7 separate regions of the Homo sapiens genome follow, and regions 1, 2, 3, 5, 6 and 7 are each linked to region 4. The links are contacts of gene promoters, found by promoter capture Hi-C in blood cells and fetal thymus (Javierre and others, 2016). All regions are on one chromosome and are shown on one strand. Each heading gives the region's core, a stretch centred on a gene start or on the middle of the fragment in contact. The rest is flanking DNA. Distances are from core to core; before and after follow the strand shown.

What was found. Contacts are between HindIII fragments. The CHiCAGO score rates a contact against its expected background, and 5 or more counts as called.
Region 1: a contact is called between a fragment that was not itself captured here and the fragment with the promoter of STT3B in region 4, in 1 of 17 cell types (monocytes). The highest score is 5.5, in monocytes.
Region 2: a fragment that was not itself captured here is called in contact with the fragment with the promoter of STT3B in region 4 in 2 of 17 cell types (M2 macrophages and M1 macrophages); the score reaches 5.5 in M2 macrophages.
Region 3: a fragment that was not itself captured here is called in contact with the fragment with the promoter of STT3B in region 4 in 1 of 17 cell types (neutrophils); the score reaches 8.1 in neutrophils.
Region 5: a fragment that was not itself captured here is called in contact with the fragment with the promoter of STT3B in region 4 in 1 of 17 cell types (neutrophils); the score reaches 5.6 in neutrophils.
Region 6: a contact is called between a fragment that was not itself captured here and the fragment with the promoter of STT3B in region 4, in 3 of 17 cell types (neutrophils, erythroblasts and fetal thymus). The highest score is 7.8, in neutrophils.
Region 7: a fragment that was not itself captured here is called in contact with the fragment with the promoter of STT3B in region 4 in 2 of 17 cell types (neutrophils and fetal thymus); the score reaches 5.1 in neutrophils.

The regions. Positions count from the first base shown.
Region 1 is chr3:30,757,387-30,760,086 of GRCh38, forward strand. All of the region lies in intron 14 of GADL1 (glutamate decarboxylase like 1), which reads right to left. Among named protein-coding and RNA genes, the nearest start is that of GADL1, 140 kb to the right of the region's middle. The HindIII fragment of the contact is 1,384 bases long and covers 687-2,070 here.
Region 2 is chr3:30,776,392-30,779,091 of GRCh38, forward strand. GADL1 (glutamate decarboxylase like 1) reads right to left here. Exons shown (of 15, transcript NM_207359.3): 14 at 1,788-1,877. Among named protein-coding and RNA genes, the nearest start is that of GADL1, 120 kb to the right of the region's middle. The HindIII fragment of the contact is 1,944 bases long and covers 368-2,311 here.
Region 3 is chr3:30,627,885-30,630,584 of GRCh38, forward strand. All of the region lies in intron 1 of TGFBR2 (transforming growth factor beta receptor 2), which reads left to right. Among named protein-coding and RNA genes, the nearest start is that of TGFBR2, 23 kb to the left of the region's middle. The HindIII fragment of the contact is 7,422 bases long and covers 1-2,700 here.
Region 4 is chr3:31,531,581-31,534,280 of GRCh38, forward strand. It overlaps STT3B (STT3 oligosaccharyltransferase complex catalytic subunit B), which reads left to right and starts at 1,345. Exons shown (of 16, transcript NM_178862.3): 1 at 1,345-1,732. The coding sequence starts at 1,419. RefSeq lists silencers at 668-927, 1,238-1,467, 1,498-1,627, 1,708-1,857 and enhancers at 1,028-1,167, 2,018-2,077. The HindIII fragment of the contact is 5,534 bases long and covers 1-2,700 here.
Region 5 is chr3:32,383,666-32,386,365 of GRCh38, forward strand. No RefSeq gene overlaps it. Among named protein-coding and RNA genes, the nearest start is that of CMTM7, 6.8 kb to the right of the region's middle. The HindIII fragment of the contact is 6,743 bases long and covers 1-2,700 here.
Region 6 is chr3:30,667,495-30,670,194 of GRCh38, forward strand. All of the region lies in intron 3 of TGFBR2 (transforming growth factor beta receptor 2), which reads left to right. Among named protein-coding and RNA genes, the nearest start is that of TGFBR2, 62 kb to the left of the region's middle. The HindIII fragment of the contact is 2,853 bases long and covers 1-2,700 here.
Region 7 is chr3:30,649,777-30,652,476 of GRCh38, forward strand. TGFBR2 (transforming growth factor beta receptor 2) reads left to right here. Exons shown (of 7, transcript NM_003242.6): 3 at 494-684. Among named protein-coding and RNA genes, the nearest start is that of TGFBR2, 45 kb to the left of the region's middle. The HindIII fragment of the contact is 8,920 bases long and covers 1-2,700 here.

The DNA of each region.
Region 1 (2,700 bases), core at 129-2,628, 770 kb before region 4:
AAGCCTATAAAAAGCATAAATGCTTAGGACAATTCGCATGGAAAGTGAAAAGAATTAAAGACATGAAAGGGAAACCAGTTAGTCTCTTTATGAGCAGGTATATCCTTGCTCACAGAACTCTGGCTGTGTACAGCCTTAAAGCTAATGTAATGCTATTAGTAAATATTGAGGATGATTACAGGCCCATGGATTAGTGGATTTCTGCTTTAAGTTTGCTGTTTATTTTCTAGGGCACATAACCCCCCCACAGAGAATGAGTAAACACAGAAGGACCTAGAATTCCAATCATCCAAATAGTTCTTGGGATTAGTAGATCAGATTCACAAAATCACAAGAATTTGAAGGAGTTCTACAACTCCTACAAATGTAGTCCCCTCCCCTGTTTAAACAGTTCTAGTCCGTATCTTCTGGATCCCAAGACTTCCCTCTTCTCTTACCAGAATACACTAATAGCAAAGCTGCTCAGATTATCAGCAGTTCAGCAAAATCAAAAGGAATATCTGAGCTTAAGATGGGTCAGTTACCCAGTACCAATAAATGCAGATAACACTTATTGAGCATGTTACCATGTGCTGAGTACCATGGTGTTTATTCATTAATCCAAATTTGTTTTCTCAATTCCATGAGTTAAGTATTAAACTAATTTTATAGACGAAACTTCTCAAGATGCAGCAGCTTGCCCCAAAAGCTTCATAGCTTTCATAGTTTCCTGCACAGCCAAGAGCAAAACCAAATCTGGATGATACCAAACTACTCTCTCCAACCATCAAACATCATGCCTTGGCTTTACTCAACATTCTTTGCCTTTGTAGTACATTCCTATCTGCCAAGTACTATCCACATACAGTTGCATGCACCAAGTATGTATTCTTAGTGAACACCTTTGACAGCTTGGTGGAGCACTCCACTCTCTGAAAGAGCCCCTCCTTAGCTGATGAGTTTTCTCTGGGCTATTCTTTGCAGCCTCCCTCCAGCTCTTCCTTCCGTCAGATCTCCATTTCCTACACTTTGCTCCGTATTGCCTTTTATCTTTCCCGTCTTCCCCTCTTCTCAGGAAGAACCACAATGATTGTGCTTGAGAACTTTAGAATCAGACTGGCTCTGAGTAACTGACAAAAAAACATGAGATGGTAACTACCTCATAGAGGGTGGTTGAGAGGACTCTAAATGAGATCATATATGTAATGGGCTTAGCACAGTATAAGATAACATGGTAAATGCTTAAATATAAATGTGGACCTTCTACGAATATATCAACTTGGTGGAAGAAGAGAGTAAAAACTATTCCTGGATTCTTATCACTGAGATAAAGGTTTTCATGGTGACTCCATTCAAGAGGACTCCATTGTATTTCCATAAAGCAAGTATTTATTTATTGCCTCATAATGAAGTACTTTCATAAACAGAATCCTATGCCATCCTTGCCATTAGGCAGCACTTTGTAAAAGCTGGTACAAGTGTCGCCCTTTTGATAGTCTTCCCTGAGCTTCCAGTGGAATATATAGGGGATTTGAGTCAACATTTGATCTCCTTCTAAAGTCCCTTCCTATATTGCAGAGGCTTACACATTTCCAAAACTCTCTTGCAGTTAGTCTGATGTAATTTAAAGTGAGCCAGCCAGACATACCTGCACATAATTTCAAACTTGAGTTAGGTGGGAGAAGAGTCATAATGATTAAAAATCCGTTTTTTTTCCAGTGCAGATCACGATGGAGCTGGTTGGATTTAGTGCTGGCATCTCGTAAGGCAAATCCACAATTCGACAGGCCTCTGCAGATTGGAGCAGAAGCAGCAGCTCCCTGGGCAGCCCAGTTCTAGGGTAGGACTTAGACATCTGTCTCTTTAGCTCTCACAATGATTATGTAAATCTTTAATTATCTATAAATCTTTTTCTTCCAAAATTAGCCAGAGTATATTCTACTCCCTGCACTTGATTTCTAAACAATAGCTAAGAGGAGCTCTTGCCCTTCTTTCTGTACCTCCAGTACTTGTTCCTGCTCATAATTCTTGTTACACTGGACATTTTATTACAGTAACTCTTAGAAACATTTATCTTTTCCTCAAGTTGAAAGCTTGATGGAAGGTGCTATGTCATTTTCACCTTTGATATTTCCCATAGTGCTTGGCACAAAGCATTTGCTGAATTGAACTGAGACACGTTCCCACAGTAACACTGTGGTAAGCTAAAGCCTAATTTTGAATTGTCACTAGGTTTTATTCCACATTTTGTACATTGCTGAACTATGCCTAAACCTGTTTTTTAAAAGTGACCATCTTTATTTGTGGTAGATTAGGTTCTTCAGAAATACGCATATGTATCCTCACTACTTCACTTCCTTAGAAGTAACATTTCCCTGCTCGACTGCCACTGGGTTTGTGCATATGGCTGGATTTGGCTAACTGTAGCATAGTCTCCAATATCTTTTAAGGTTGGGCTTAGTTATGAGATTCACTATGGCCAAGCTAATGTCGGCAGATATAACAGACTCACAAAATGCTCTTATGCAGGTGGACTTGTGCTCTATGCCTCTGTCACTCATAAGAACATGCCTCAGTAAGTTGAAGAAAGATTCACGGAGCCACAGCCACTGCCAGCCAAGTCCAGCCTAAATTAGCTACCTAATATCTCCTTTTTACCTGCAGATTCATGAGTGATAAATGCTTATTGTCTCATATCACTAAAGTTTTGTGATTGTTTCA
Region 2 (2,700 bases), core at 90-2,589, 760 kb before region 4:
TTGTCCAGTTCCTGTTTCTCTTTATGGGTTACTTAACATCTGAAATGTATTCTTAAGCACTTTGCTATTTTGTGTGTGACAAATACAAGACAAATCCCCAAAGTCTATGCTACCTGCCTGAAATGGATAAGGGCACAGATATAACACCATCCATCTCTCCACATCTTTGCTCCCTGAGAGGGTTTGATAAGAGGTGTATTCTGTATTGGTCATCTATTATGTTACAGGTTAGGAGGTTTGAGCCATGAATAAACAGAAAATGACCTGAAGCTAAAAGGACACGCTGCCAAGTGAGGCAATCAGTGACCATGACTTAAAGGCTATGTTCTGCCCTCTTCCTTCTAGTTAGACTGGGGCAAAAATCCCAAGCTTTCTGCCGTGGAAGGCAAGGCTCCCATGACCCTCCCTCTGCCTGTTACTCTTCTCACCTCCCATCACTGCTTCTTTGCACCCCTGTGGTCTTTGAATCACATTCTCCCCTCTTGAGCCTCTGAGTTCTCATGCTGTGATTCTTCCTGGAATCTGCTTCTTTAAAATTGTCCCCTGACTGACATCTGCTTATTGTTAAAAACTCAGCTCTAGTATCACACATTGGGGTAGATACCCTTTCTCTCTACTTTCACTGCAAACAGTTAATCTCCATTCAGGTACTTCTTGGTTACCTTGTGATTGTCTCTTTACTCATTGTCTCTAGGAATATTGAGTTTCTCAAGGGCAGAGACACGTCCTTTTGATGTTTGTATTTCCAGTGCATAGTATAGTGGACACTCAGCAAATGTTTGTTGCTTACCTGAGTAGGGAGTCTTTTGTTTTTTGTCTTCTAAGGGGAAAATAGGCTATGGACAATGAAAATTGCTTTTAAAAAAAAAACGTTTTCCCCCTGAGGGTAAGGAGAGGGGTTTGCAAGTCAGAGCTTTTACTAACCAGGGTCATAAAGTCAGCTGTGCTGACTTGATCCCACTCAAGAGGTAGGGAATTGCCTGATTTTAATGGTGCTAGCCCATAAGAACTTGGACTCTACATGTCATGGCCACATAATCCCCAGTGAAACTCCCATGGGTTCACTTTCAGTATGCATTATGTTCATGCATCCAGAAAGTGGGATCAAGTAGTGTTACTCACGAGACTCCATAGTGCTTGGAAATCTGGATTAGAGGCAGGATTATAACTGGCAGGGCCATGCTAGGCGAGGAGTAGATGAGACACAAGCAGTCCCTGGAGCCTGGGGCCTCTCCTCACACGGTATCATCAGCCCCAACAGCTGTGTGTGAAGACACTTCCAAGCACATTTTGTTCGATGATCAGCTGAAACCCACTGCTTAGCATCTCTTTTCTTTTATGTAATCCCCTTGGGTGTAAGACATAGGGCCTTTGTTGAAGACAGTCTCACGCTTACAAAAAGTATCAGATTTAGACTTCTAACATTATTTCCAAGTAAGGTGGTACAACAGTCAGAGATGCAGTAGCAGAGTTGAAATAAATAGTCATTCATCACACAACTTTAACCTTGTGTCCCATGACCAGATGTCACTTCCTGAAGTACACTGTGAGCCAGAACTTCTACCTTACAGACAACCTAATTGTTTTGGGTGTGTGTCAACCATGTTAATTTGTTAAATGTAAACAATGTCTACAACTGTTTGGCCTGTCATTACTTTTTAACAAACTAGAAGACACTTCTCTAGATAATTCTGTGCTTGCTAGGCCCTCTTATTTATAGGATCAACAGATAATGTACACTGAATCTACTTCATCAAAAAGAAAAATACCATTTACTTATTACTTACCAAATTAAGTTTTGCCCAGAACTCGGGTCCTTCTTCCATCTCTCTGAGGCTCGGTGGAATGTACCAAAAGCAAATATTGGCATATTCAGGCTGAGAATTAGAAAAAATATAAAGTTGTTATCTTAAGATTTATCTTAGAATGCAATGAAATACTTTTAAAACTCTTAGCTAGTTTCTTCAAGAGTTATCATGTGTATAAAATTTTAACATCAGAATCTTATAGAGTAACAATCCCTTCTGCCTTCTTGATAACATCCTATTTAAAAATTTTCTACTCCATAGCGTGCACCTAGCAGGTTCTCTTTCATCTTAAATGTGCAAAGATCAGGAAAAAACAGTAAAGTTTGAAGCTGACTCAACCCAGCTCTGATCGTCAGTTAGTGCCTGCTTACATACATGCTCAGAGATGCCCTGGATCCTCTCTCTCCAACACTGATCCTTAAGTTATTTGCTATACCATCATAGGCTTCCAATAATTCTTCTTAAGGCAGCCAAAGTTGGCCCCTACACCTGGCAAATGCAAAAGCTTTGATTACCTGTGAGATGATAACAGCGTGACCTGCTTGGGCTTCACTAACCAGCACTACTATGACCCTAGCCAATACTGCTTTTGAAAAAAGAACATCACCTTGACTCCCGGCTCTCGAATATCAGTAAAAGTGCGAATTAGCTAGGGGACCTATTCAAAATGTAGATTCTCATAGGAACTCAGGTTCCTATGTTCAAAATGTCCAATGTCTAAGTCCATCCTAGAAAAGGCTAAAGAATTGGCATTTTATGAAGCATGTCAAGTGATTCTGAAGCGGGCAGTTTATGTTCTATCAGAAACTCTCATCTACACTAAGTAATCATAACCCAGTTATCTTCCCTGCCAGTCTGTTTTTCTATCAGACATGACTTGCTTAAACATGGG
Region 3 (2,700 bases), core at 113-2,612, 900 kb before region 4:
TTAAAGTCCCCATTCTTCTCAAGTCCCAAAGAGGTCCGTTCAGGTAATTTCTTAGCACCTATAATCACAGTGGGACAGATTAAATTACTTGTACTTTTCCATTCCTGTGCTTTGGAATTATAGGCTGTTTCTTTGTCCTGGAAACCAGATAGTCTAATGTTTGTGGAAATACTACTTAGTAGTGCACTGCAATTATAATACTTTATTGTAGGAGGATGCAGCCAGGCCTTTTTTTTTTTTTTTTAATCATCTGTGTTTTTAGTTTTAATCTTAAAAGGATTATAAAAATAGTACTGCCTTGTGGGAGAAAAATATGCTTAAAGTCTATGAGCATGGAGTGGTAGGGATTATAAACCGTTACAAACTTCTCCTGGAAATTCTGGGGAAAGGGAAGTTAAAGCGGCCAATAGAAATCTCCTAGGAGAAAACTTGCCCTGAAGGGATGCTTTTAATTGGGTTCAGTATTTATCAGAAGAACCCTGCAAAAGTGGTTTCCCTGAAGGCATTTGGATTTTCCCCTGTGAATAAATTTCACCCACCTTGGTCACCTCTGTGCTGTATTCTCCTAGAAACTCACCTTTATTTGGCATGCTGTGACTTAAATCCTCCAAAAAAAAAAAAAAGCCTTTGAAAAAGCCTGTGGGTTTTTTTTTTTTTTTTTTTTTTTTTCTCTAAAATGTTAATTTCCTTTCTTTAGGCTTGTGTGGGCTTTGACTGGAAACTTAATCTGTGTGCCTGGGCTCTGCATTAGGTTTCAGTCATTGAAATGGGGCTTAATAAGAATTACTTGATACCTTAGGAGTCAGACGAGCCTTACATTTATCTTGGGCTCAGGGATTTGCATTTTGAGAGGTTGTGCCAGCTGACATGAGCCTTTACAGGTTTCAGCTTGTTGCAAACCTAGTTGGGTCCATTTCTCTCACTTCTGAGACCTTTTGCTGCTGCCACTCATAGCTAACGTGTTTTCCATGGAACACTACTCCTTGTCCCTAATTGTCTTCTCTCCCTACCTCAGCAGTGACACTACAGACAGCCAGTCATTTAATACGAGACTCATTCCTTAAGAAGTTGGGATAGAACTTTAATTACACAAGGCATCCAAGCCAGCAGTCAGGGCCCTTTCCAATGCGATTACTTTTCAAGCTCTGCCCTGCTTCTCCTTCCATTTCCCTCTGGGCCTTCGTTTTCAGATCTCCTCAGAAGCCGAGGAACGCAGGTCCTTTTGAATTTCTTTAGATCAGTGTTGTCCTATAGGACTTTCTGCAATGATGAAAGTATCCTGTCTATTCCTGGCCACATGTGGCTATTAAGCACTTGAAAATGGCTGGTCTGACTTGGAACTGAATGTATGATTTCATTTAACTTTAGTTAATTTAAATTTATAAATCCATGTGTCCTCATGGCTACTGTGTAGCTCTATCTAGATTATGCCCTTGACTTTTGAACAATGTGTCTTGGGAGAGTTCTCTTGGCTCTGGCCCTCCACTTTCATGAACCAGCTCCTCCCAGTGGGGAAAGAAGAACTCTCTTTGACTTCAGAACTGACTTCCTTTTATTGCTAAGTTAGACAGGCTAGGCCTTGAGCTTAAAACTCTTCACCAACTGTTTATACCCTCCATACCTGGCCTCAACATGTCCTTTTTTCTCTGTGACTATATCCTTATTCTTTATCCAGCAACAGCAAATATGCATTAATTTTCTGCAGATAAGGTTTCCTTTGGAACTTAAGGAAGAGGTATGAAACTTGGCTTTGGAGGACTTAGGGATAGGAAAGCCATCACCAAGTGTTTATAGAGTACCAACCACCGTGTGCCAGCCAATGTTTGAGATTTGGGGAATACAGAGTGAATTAAAGTCCATGTGTACAAGCTAATAAACAAGATTCTATCAACATGTCAGCAGATAAGTACAGCGCGAGGGTCTGAGAACAATGGTAGATGCTTGTAATTTTAGAAGCGGTTGTCAAGAATGGCATCTTTGATAATGTGATATTTGAGCAGTAATTGGTATGAAATCGGGATGAAGAAGGCAGATCTCTGGGTTAAGCGCATTCTAGTTGGAGGGAACAGCAAGTACAGTGTCCTAAAAACAGACTGTGCTTGTCATTTCCTCCCCTCCTCCCCCATGGTTTCTCATTTTTGCTTCTCTTTCTAAGAGTTACATTTATAGGCATACATTTTTACACTGGACATCACAAGAAATTGAGCGAGTTCACAACTCCACTGGTGCTGGTAAAAAGATTATGCTAAGATGGATAAAAGACTATGAAACATAGTCAAAATGCACTTCTCAGTCACCTCTGGCCATACGATTTTACACATCTGGGTTCTCACCCCAGAATGAGATAGGTTTAATAGATAAGATTCAGTGTGGGGCAAATCTAAGGTGCCAAAGTTAGGTACATACTAGAACTTCCATAAAGAGTTGTCTTAAGAAATAGAAAGCATTATAATTTGACTTTGTAGCCAAAGGTCATTCAAAACATTTCAAAGTTTAGATCACTTATTCCAGTTTTATCTCTAGTACTAAATGTTATTTCAGCACACAAATGTGGTCATTCCCCATGGATGGAAGGAGCCAGCTGTGTTCCAGAACTATGTTGGAAGATTGCACCTTGAAGACTGTGTGCATGGTTCTCATTTTCCATCTTAAAATCACTGCTGGAATCTATCTTGACTTTTCCACAGCCCATTGACAACT
Region 4 (2,700 bases), core at 95-2,594:
TGGTAGCACTTTATTTTAGCGGACAAGGAGGGAAGTGGGGAAAGGAAAGGAATTATAAAAATACAAGGTAGACGTGCACAAGAACCTTCGTTCTATTATTATTTAGTAAAGTGAGAACTGGAAACAGCTTAACGTCCAGGGTAAGTTAGTTTCACTCACTCGACGGAATGTATGCAGCCGTTAATGTATTTCTGCATTTTCCCATATTTCCAGTGAACATACAGTACTTTCGCAATTCGGAGTACAAACGAAAAAGGGCGAGAGAAGGTCGCATTTTGCCTGCCGGAGCTAGGGGCGCGCTTGCCGGTTCCAACGAGTTTTCGGTGTCGGAAAACTTGTCTTTGCTCACATTCTCGGATTCCCGCGGCCGCAGAAGCCGGAGGCGGGACGTGAAGGGCAATGAGCAAGGTAGGCTGTGTCACTGCCGCCGCGGGCTCACTCGCAGCGCCAGCCGAGGAGCGCCACGGGCTGCTGAACCCCTCGGCCCGACCCACGCGCCGAGGGCTAGGATAATGCGCCTGCGCGGCCGTCACGTGGTGAGGGCTCCGCGCAAAGCGGGTTAAAAGTCACGACCGCGGAGAGCCCGCGAGCGTCCTGCTGGTCGGTGCGGCGCTTTCCGCGTCCTTTAAGACGAGTTTGACCGAGGCCGCTCCGCAGTTCCCGCCCCTCGGCCCAGCTCAGCTCCATGAACCTAGCGGAGCCGCCTAGTACCCTTTCTCGCCGACCGCACAGGCGCGCGAAACCGCGTCTTTCAACTGACAATGAAGCCGTAGCCGCGCAGCTCGGCCACTCCGGGCGAATCGGCGCGAGGCCGGGATGGTGGGGGGGAGGGGGAGACGGTTGGGTCAAGCTCCGCCCCAGCTCGCGCCCCTATTGGTGGGCGCAGCGGTTCTGGGCCCGCCCCCTAACGGACCTGTCGCTTTGTGACAGGCGGAGGGGCCAGTTCCTGTCGGGCCGGAGGCGGAGTCAGAGGTTGCTTGAGCTCCGCCCGGACTCCAGGGGGCTCCTCCCCCTGCTCCTTTCGGCTGGGCGGGCGGCGGGCTAGAGAGGGAATGTCATTGCTTCTCAGAGCCGTGGTGCCGCCTCCGTCTGCTGCTTCTTTCCTGGCGCCCTCGTCCCGTCGGCTTTCGCCGCCGCCGCCGCAGCTGCACTGGGGATACGGATGGCTAGTGGGGCGCCGGGGCCATCTGGGTTGAGAGAGCGGCGATTGCGGCCGCTGCTGAGGCGGAGACTCCCCGCCGCCGCTTCCTCCACCCCCAGTCCGCCGGCCTCGCGGCGCTGAGGGCGGGAGCGCGCAGAGCTCTTCCCTCCTCCTTTTTCTTCCTCCTCCTCCTCCTCCTCCGGGTCCCCGCCCAGCACCCCTCGCACCAGGCGGCGGCGGCGGAGGAGGAGAGCTAGACCCGCCGCCGGGGCACAACATGGCGGAGCCCTCGGCCCCGGAGAGCAAGCACAAGTCGTCCCTCAACTCGTCCCCGTGGAGTGGCCTCATGGCCCTGGGAAACAGCCGGCACGGCCACCACGGGCCCGGGGCCCAGTGCGCGCACAAGGCGGCGGGCGGCGCGGCGCCGCCGAAGCCGGCCCCGGCGGGGCTGTCCGGGGGGCTGTCGCAGCCGGCTGGGTGGCAGTCGCTTCTCTCCTTCACCATCCTCTTCCTGGCCTGGCTTGCCGGCTTCAGCTCGCGCCTCTTCGCCGTCATCCGCTTCGAAAGCATCATCCACGAGTTCGACCCGTGGTAAGTGCCTCGCCGCCCCTCCCCCGCCCGTGGCCCGCGGGGAACCGGGACCCGCTCCTCCGCCCGCCGCAGCTCTCCTCGACTTGGCCCCGCGCCGCCGCGGAGCCCCGCTCGCGTCCTGGCTGAGGCCGGCGCGGATCCCGGAGCTCCGGGCGCGCCCCCTGCCCGTGGGCGAAGTTTGCCCCGTGCAGCCTGAGGCGGGGCGTCGGGGTCCAGGAGCGAAACCTTGATTCTCGGCCGGGCTAGTGTGAAGACTGCCAGGAGTGTGGATGCAGCCGCCGGGAGTGTGGGTGCAGCCGCCGGGAGTGTGGGTGCAGTCCCTCGCAGCCCGCTTTGGTCGCTGAGTCCGGACCCGCCACGCCAGGAGGCGGCAGGTAGCTCCTCCGCGGACTGTCGGTCGATTCCCCGCCCTCCTCGCCCGCTGCTTTCGCGTTCTTTCATATTTGCGGGCGCGTTTTTGCTAGTTCAGACGGAATCGGCCAGGGGGGCTGCCCTGTTGCCGCTGGAGGTGGGTCCAGATGTGCCGGAACCCCGGCTGCTCACCCTTGCAGTTTTACGCTTTTACTGTTTCTTTTTATGCTCTCATGATACGAGAAGGGAAAAGGAGAGTGAATGGCGTGTTGGAGGGAAGGAAATAATACCCCTGAAAGTGATCTGAAAGCTAGCTACTCTTATTTATTTATCATTAGGTATTTTAAAGAGTGGCTTTTTTTCAGAGCTCTTAAGTGCACTCAGCACCTTACTGTTTCACTATCGTCTTGGGTTGCTTTTTAGAACAAGATCCTTACCCTGTTAGCCACTGTCACCCTTAGTGTGTTATGCACAGTATCTGAAAGCATTGCATTAGTTCCTTTATTGGTCTGCAGGAAGGTTTGTGGATAAGAGCAAACAGTACCACGGTGATGGGAGTCCTAGATTGTAATACCGAAGTTGCACATGGTGTAAGGGACTGACCTGAATGTTTTAGG
Region 5 (2,700 bases), core at 137-2,636, 850 kb after region 4:
ACCCATCTGTCCCATCTGGGTTTAGAAATTTCCCAGCTTCACAGAGCTGGTAGGTGGCAGATTTAGGATTTAAACCCAAGGCAGCATGACCCTGACTGCCGAGTTTCCACACATGACTTCTTTCTATGAGCTCCCAGTCTCAAAAGAGTCAACTAAAGTGAGATATGTCACACACTTCCAGTGTGGGCAAAGGGCTGGGTGCACATACAGGAGTCAGGTAACTCACCCACATTTGCCATATTGTCTTGCCACCTATCTAGCCTCATGTAGCATCTCCCACTTCTTTGGACCTCATGCTTAAGCCTGCATGAACTTCATCCCCTCTAATCTGTCATGCCCGAGTACTTACCTGGAACTCTCTTCTCCACCCACCCAAGGCTGGTTAACACCTCTTTATCCTTCAGTATGCAGCTAAGATGGCCCCTCCTCCAGGAAGCCTTCCCTGACTTCCCCATCACATCCCTGACAGGGTAAGGTATCTCCCCATGGGCTCCCATAGTACCCCACTTTTATTCTATCATTAGCATTTTTCATACATATTGCCTGTTTTCTCAGTCTGGGCAAAGAACATGTACTCCTGTGCCTGACACAGGTCCTGGCACTTTGTCAGTGCTCAATAAATATTGCCATGGGGATTGCTCATCACTCACAGAAGGCTTCTCAGAGGCCGTAACATTTTGGCTGGACTTTGTGAGACTGGCGGGCATTTGCCAGGTTAGCAGTTTTCAACCAGGGTCATATACGCATCGAAATCACCCGCGCAACTCTTCCCAAACATGGATGTCCAGCCCCGCCTGAGCACACTGAATCAGAATCTCCAAGGCTGAGCCTGGGCAGGTATAGTTTTCATAGGTTTCACAGGTGATTGCAAATGACAGCATGGGCTAAGGAAAGATAAAAAAGAGATCTCATTATCATCATCATACTCATCATCTTACTGTCAGCAACAGTTCTCAGCATTTGACATATCTTAACCCCTTTGATCCTCACAGTGTTCATTGTCTACATAAAGCACAAATCCTAAGGTGGGCATCCACAGTCCTGTGGTATCTCTCCAGCCAAGGTCCCCAGCCCTTTTCCCCAAGTCCCCACACTCCAGCCACGCCAAAGGACTGGGAATTCCTGGAATCCGTGGTGCGGTTTCATGCCTCCTTTCTTGACATATGTCATTCCCTCTTTTGCCCACCCCATAAATTTTTAATCGCCCTTCAAGACCTAGTTCCAAGCACATATTCTTTTTTGAAACTTTCTCCTCCCAGTTCAAGACAAGCTGGTTACTCCCAGCTTTGGGCCATCCCTTACAGGGATGCTACAGCTCTGCATTAATCCCACAAATATAAACTGAGTACTACTTTGGGCCAGGCACTCTGCTAAATACTGGACACAAACAGGGAGCCGTCTAACCCAGACCTCGACTCCTCCCAACAGAGATGACAGAGATGACGACCACAGCCTCCTCGGTTATCTGACTCTATTTCCCTGTGTTGCTATGGTTACAAACTCCCTGGGGGAGGGAGTTCCTCTTCTGGGAAGTGTTCAGTCAGGCATGTGGAAGGCTCTCCGTAACATTTGCTGAGTGAGGGTTGTGAGCAAATAACAAGGTGAATCCTCCTCTCCTCCCTTCCTCTCTCAGTAAAACTTTTCCCCAGCAGCTCTCAAAATTCCTTGGATTACCTAAATCCAAGAAATCTTTTATTTCACCCTTGAAGATGGTCTTTGATGCTTATGGTTATGGAAATGGCAACGTACAGGAGTCCCTCAGCCCTCAGATAATGAAGCCTCATTGTTCGATACATAAGGACTTAGGAAAAATGATAAAATAGGTAACATTTACTACTATGAGCCAGATGCTACTCTAGACCGTTTCCATATGTCTTATCCCATTTAGATCTCGCAGTTACCCTGAGGGGTCATTTCTATTGTTGTTCCTCTTTACAGAGAAGGAAATGGAGGCTGAGAGAGGCTTGCCCAAGGTTGCACATCTAGCAAGTGATGGAACTAAGGGCCAAACCCAGGCAGTTTGGTTCCAGAGTCCTGCCTCTCAGCCACACAGCCAGGCAGCACAAAGACAAAGGTTTCAGGGTCCCACCTGGCGCTAAAGACCAGGTATCCTGGCTGGCCCCGCTGTGGTGAGTACATGCCGCTCTCCCTCTGCTGGGCCTCAGCCACTCTCTTCTGCTCTGCCTCTCCTTATTTCCTCTCATGGCCCAACCAGCCTCCTGGCTTCCACCTTCTCTCTATGTCCCAATTGCTAAACCCCTCTCAATGCCTCACATTCAAACTCCGCAGGACAGAGGATCATCAGTGGAGCTCCCACTCTTACTAGGCAAAGTTCCCTTATAAGGCCACTCCAAACACTACTGGCCAACCCACTGATGGGCTGCCCTTGGCTCAGGAGCCAGCCTGATGCAATAAATTTCCAATGGATATAAGGCAGCTGATTGGTGATTCTCAGAAGGACCTGAGAGTTTGACTGGTTTACGGAACCTAATAAACTTTTTAAAAATTCACTGGAGGCCAGGCGCGGTGGCTCACACCTGTAATCCCAGCACTTTGGGAGGCCGAGGCGGACGGATCACAAGGTCAGGAGATTGAGACCATCCTGGCTAACACGGTGAAACCCCGTCTCTACTAAAAATTCAAAAAATTAGCTGGGCATGGTGTCGGGTGCCTGTAGTCCCAGCTACTCAGGAGGCTGAG
Region 6 (2,700 bases), core at 92-2,591, 860 kb before region 4:
TCCTCCCCCTCAAATTTTTTAAGTGTAAGTCTTCTAAAGAAATAACAGGAAATTTTAGGAGAAAGTAAAACTTTGGTTTCTGACATTGAACTGGGGATTTCTAGAATCTTCTTCAGTCAGTGCCACACATAAACTTAAGGGGATTTCTGTTTTTGTGTTTCCTTTAGGCTAAAAAGGAATTGAAATTAGCAAATACGACTGTTTTTATAGATATTTAGGAATTGTAAAATAAAATTATCCATGATGAATCAACATTTCATCTGGACGTTTTAGTGAATTAAGGACAAAGCTAAGTAATTATGCAGTTAATATTTAAATTTTTTCAAATTGTATTTCTCATATGTGAAAAAAAATTGACTACATATTCACATTTGGCCAAAGTGAAGTCTCTCCAGATTCTGCCAATGAGGTTATTAAAATAACACCTCTAGAACAGGGGTCAGCAAAGTTTTTCTGTGAAGGGCCAGATAGTAAATATTTTAGGCTTTCTGGGCCAGATAAGATCTCTGTTGCATGAACCTCTTAGTTTTATTGTTTTTTAAACAACTCTTTAAAAATGGGGATGGAAATCATTCTTAGGTCATAGGACTATACAAAAGCAGGCCATGGACTTCTGAGCCATAGTTTGTCAAACCTTGCTGTAAAATATAAAAAATTTGAGAAGTATCATTCCACGTAAGTAATCATTCAGCTTCTAAAACAAACGTTTGTTGAATACCATAAATTGCCCCATTCTGCCCCAGGTGCTGTGTATATCATGATGATCAAAACAGACCTGGCCACTACCCTGCTTTGTCAGGAGAGAAGCAATCAGATAATCAAGTGGATTTCTGATTATAAGACATTCCATGTAGTTACAGACACAGAGACCGGAGACAAGTGGGTACTTCAAGCAAACACATTCATTGGATACCACATATAATAGAGGTGGAGTTTCAGGCAGGGAGCATTGTGGAAGTGGTAAGCCTAAGTGGAAATGCCGACTGCTGGATCGGCTGTTGTGTTTGAATTTGTGTTGTGTTCATCTGCCCCCTTAATTTTGTTTGCTGTACAACAGGGACAGTCCATACATCTCCACAAGAGCATCTTTTTTTTCTTTTGCATTCAATCATTCTGTAATTGCTTTGTCCCACCCCATTTCTGCCCTACTCTTGCCTGTTCTTTGTCCCAATCCAAGCCTCCCAGTGTAAGAATTTATGTTTTTAAGGATCAATCACCAAATTTTCTCACTTTCCCTATACTTTTAAAATGCATTCATATATCTTTCCAAAAAATGGTGATTTTTTTTTTCCCTCTTGGTTGCTGGAATTCTGATATCTTGGGGTTACTTCTCTGGTTACTAGACCCAAGATTTTCATCTAGAATATATAGTCAGTGGAAGTTGGCATTTCCACTCAGACTTACCTTAAGAACAAGTAATCATATTACACATAAACCTTAAAAATGGATATGTACCAGCTTCATTTCTCACTGTTTCGTTAGATGAAAGTTTCAGATGCTGGGCCAAGCGCAGTGGCTCACGCCTGTAATCCCAGCACTTTTGGAGGCCAAGGCGGGCAGATCACAAGGTCAGGAGTTCAAGACCAGCCTGGCCAACATGGTGAAACCCCGTCTCCACTAAAAATACAAAAAAAAAAAAAAAAAAAAAAAAAAAAAAAGCTGGGCATAGAGGCTAAGGCAGGAGAATGGCTTGAACCCAGGAGGCAAGGTTGCAGTGAGCAGAGATCGTGCCATTGCACTGCTGCCTGGGTAACAGAGCAAGACTCCATCTCGAGAAAAAAAAAAGAAAGTATCAGATGCTGAAGTAGCTATGTAGACTGGGGTATATAACCTGGGGTTCATCATCATGAGCCAGGAAAATTTAGGATATGAACACACATGAGGAGTTTAGGAGTGGAGGTTTAATAGGCAGAAGAGAAGAGAAAGAGAAACAATTCTCTCTGTAGAGAAAGGAGTCTCCAAGCGGAAAGGACGGGCCAGTGGTGAATGTGCTGGATTTTATAGTCCCGTTTGAAGAGGCGGTGTCTGATTTACATAGGGCTCACAGATTGGTTCAATCAGGTATGACGTTTACATAGTGCATGGGGAAGACTGGTCACCCCACCCTAATCTTATTATGCAAATGGGCTTTCCAGTTGATCAGCACCATCTGGTCTGTTCTTTGTTGTACACATGGCTGACAAAGAGAAGGGAAGATGGAGCTGCCATCTTGAACATGTCCTTAGTTCCTGCTGGCATTCACCCGTGCAAGCTCCCAGCTTGCCTGTCTATGTCTGAAGCTCAACTTTACAGGCTGCTCTTTGTTAGAAAATGATTTGGGGCTGCTTTTCATTAAAAAGAAACACCTTACCGAGGACTTCCATACCCTTACTATCTGCCCAAGTAATTTCTTCTTAACTCCTTTATCAGTATCATTTAGGTAATGGGTTCCCCTTGAGAGAATTTGGTTATATCCTCATTCTACCTGGACTATATTCTCATCACTTTTTTTTTTCTCTTTAAACACCTACTGTAGGTGAAAACTGACAAATGAATAATCAAAAGATCCTTTTCTGACACGGAGTTTGGTTCCATACCACCTACCCATTTTTTTCCTTTCTATTCCGCAGGTGCAGAGTGGTCAGTATGGGATAATTGCTCTTCCTTAAGTAGATCATATATTCTTTCTCCTTAACATAGCACTCTTTCCACTCATCACTG
Region 7 (2,700 bases), core at 171-2,670, 880 kb before region 4:
AGGAACTGTGACTATTTCCCCAGGCATGCTCTTTGAAAACAGTATAGCTAGACAGGACAGATTTTGCCACTTAAACTAGGGGTGTGATGTGAGGTTTGCATTACATTCAGGATGGAAGATTTAAAATTATCCTGAGTACCTAGGAATGTTCTTTTTTTCCATGTCTTCCCCTTTAATGATTTAATTAAGACTTAAATATGTAAAGTTCTCCACCAGGACTGCCCCGTGGAACGCTGTCTGCTCCAGGTGATGTTTATAATCACAAATGGGTTCCAAGAATAAACAAAGGAAAAACAGAAAAGAGTAGAAAAGCATAGGAGACTATAGGACAGCCTGCGAATGCTGGAGAACAGGAACCAGCTGCCGTTGTTAGGAACAACTTCATGAAGGAAAAGTATTCCAGATTGCCTTTCTGTCTGGAGGCCATATTATTCATTTATTCTCTTTCTCTCTCTCCCTCTCCCCTCGCTTCCAATGAATCTCTTCACTCTAGGAGAAAGAATGACGAGAACATAACACTAGAGACAGTTTGCCATGACCCCAAGCTCCCCTACCATGACTTTATTCTGGAAGATGCTGCTTCTCCAAAGTGCATTATGAAGGAAAAAAAAAAGCCTGGTGAGACTTTCTTCATGTGTTCCTGTAGCTCTGATGAGTGCAATGACAACATCATCTTCTCAGAAGGTGAGTTTTCTTCTCTTAAGGGTGTGGGACCTGAGATCTGTGCCAATTTTTTGTATCCTTGGTCTGCAGTGTCATAGAGCACATTCCTCCTGTGGTGGATTGCATACAGTGGATTAGGAGCTCATTCAGCTGGTGGAAAGAGGGGCTTGGGGAGTAGCAGGGTTTGTTCTGGTTCTCATCAAATATGGTTGACTGGGGCAAACATTATTATTTGTCTTTGACAAATAGTTTCTTTCACCTAGAGCAGTGTTTCTCAAAGTGCGGCCTCTTGAGCAGCCAGCATCAGTATCACCTGGGAACCTGTTATAAATGCAGATTCTCAGGCCCCACTAAATGAGAAACATAGAGGGTGAACCCCAGCTATCTGTATTTTAACAAGCCCTCCCAGTAATTCTGTGCAGCTAAAATTTGGTAACTATTGTTCTAAAGATTTGGATGGGGTTGTTTAATCTTGGAGGAGGACTTTCTTTATAACTGATGTTGTTTCTTGTACATAGTCCCAGGATTTGTCTTTAGGGTACTTGTCATCGATCCCATTTGAGAGAAACATTGCAATACAGAGAGGAAATAATAAGCCAAAGTTTACCCCTAGAGCCAGGAGAAGAGTAGATTAGATACTAGCCTCCATCTTTGAAGTTCAGCGTTTACTCAGCTTGAAAGGAAGGCATACACTATTCCCTCAATTTTTAATAAGAAGAGAATTCAGTGGTTTTTAATTACAAAAGTAGTATATGCTCGTCATCAAAAATTTCAAACAATCCAACAGTGTGTGAAAATTAAAAATGAAAGTACATTTTCGTCCTCCCCTCACTCCCAATGCAACAGATCATCTGTATTGACAATGTATTAGATGCACACACGTCTCTATCATTCATTCATATTATCTCCCACTCCATCCTCTCTCCCAATCTCTCCCTGTCTTCCTTTCTCTTTCCCTCCTTTCATCCATCTGTCCATCCTTCCATCCACTCATCCATCTTTCAGTACAACTATCTGATCATACTATAAATATTATTTTGCAACACTTTTTTATACCCAACCACTTTTACAATTCCTTCTAAACAAGATAGAACACATAGATATACTGTACATCTTTTAATTTAGTCTCGAATTTCATATTATCTCCCACGATGGATCTTATCATGTCCCTGTTGATGGATTGTCTTCAGTTTTTCCACTTAATGCTACATTGAATATCTTTGTAAAAATATCTCATGCATTTGTGCTAATATTTCTGCAAGGCAGATTGCCAGAAGTGAAATTTCTAGATTAGAAATATGTGTATTTTAAATTTGAATAAGCACTACTAAACTATTCTCCTCCTGAAAAGGATGTAAGCATATGGATTTCCGTGTACCTTCTCCAACACTGGGAATGGATAAGTCTTTTAATTTTACCAGCGTGGTAGTGTAAATGTTAGTTTAGTCAACAATAGGTCTGATTTAATTAAAAAATCTTTTTGAAATACAAATGCTGGCTCTACACCCTATCTCTGCGGCCATGTGCATTCCACCTGCGAGAAGCTATGTGTCCTCGTGTTTCGTGTTTGGTGCTCAGTAGCACTGCAGATCCAGCTTGTTCTCTTCCTGTGTCCTTCACCTACTGCCATTCTCCCTATCTTCCTGTCCAACATCCCCCAGGCCAACTTCTCAGTGAACTGAAGGCAGGCATGCACATCTTGTCAGGGCAACGCTTTCCAGATTACTCTTCCTTCCTATGTTCTCATCCTCATCCTGTAAATGGTCCATTTCTCTCGTTTTCTTTTCTGGTTGTTTTTTTTTTTTTTTTTTTTTTGACGGAGTCTCACTCTGTCGCCCAGGCTGGAGTGCAATGGCACGATCTTGGCTCACTGCAACCTCTGCCTCCCAGGTTCAAGTGATCCTCCTGCCTCAGCCTCCTGAGTAGGTGGGACTGCAGGAGTGTGCCACCATACCCAGCTAATCTTTGTATTTTTAGTAGAGACGAGTTTCACCATGTTCGTCAGTCTGGTCTCGAACTCCTGACCTCAGGTGAATA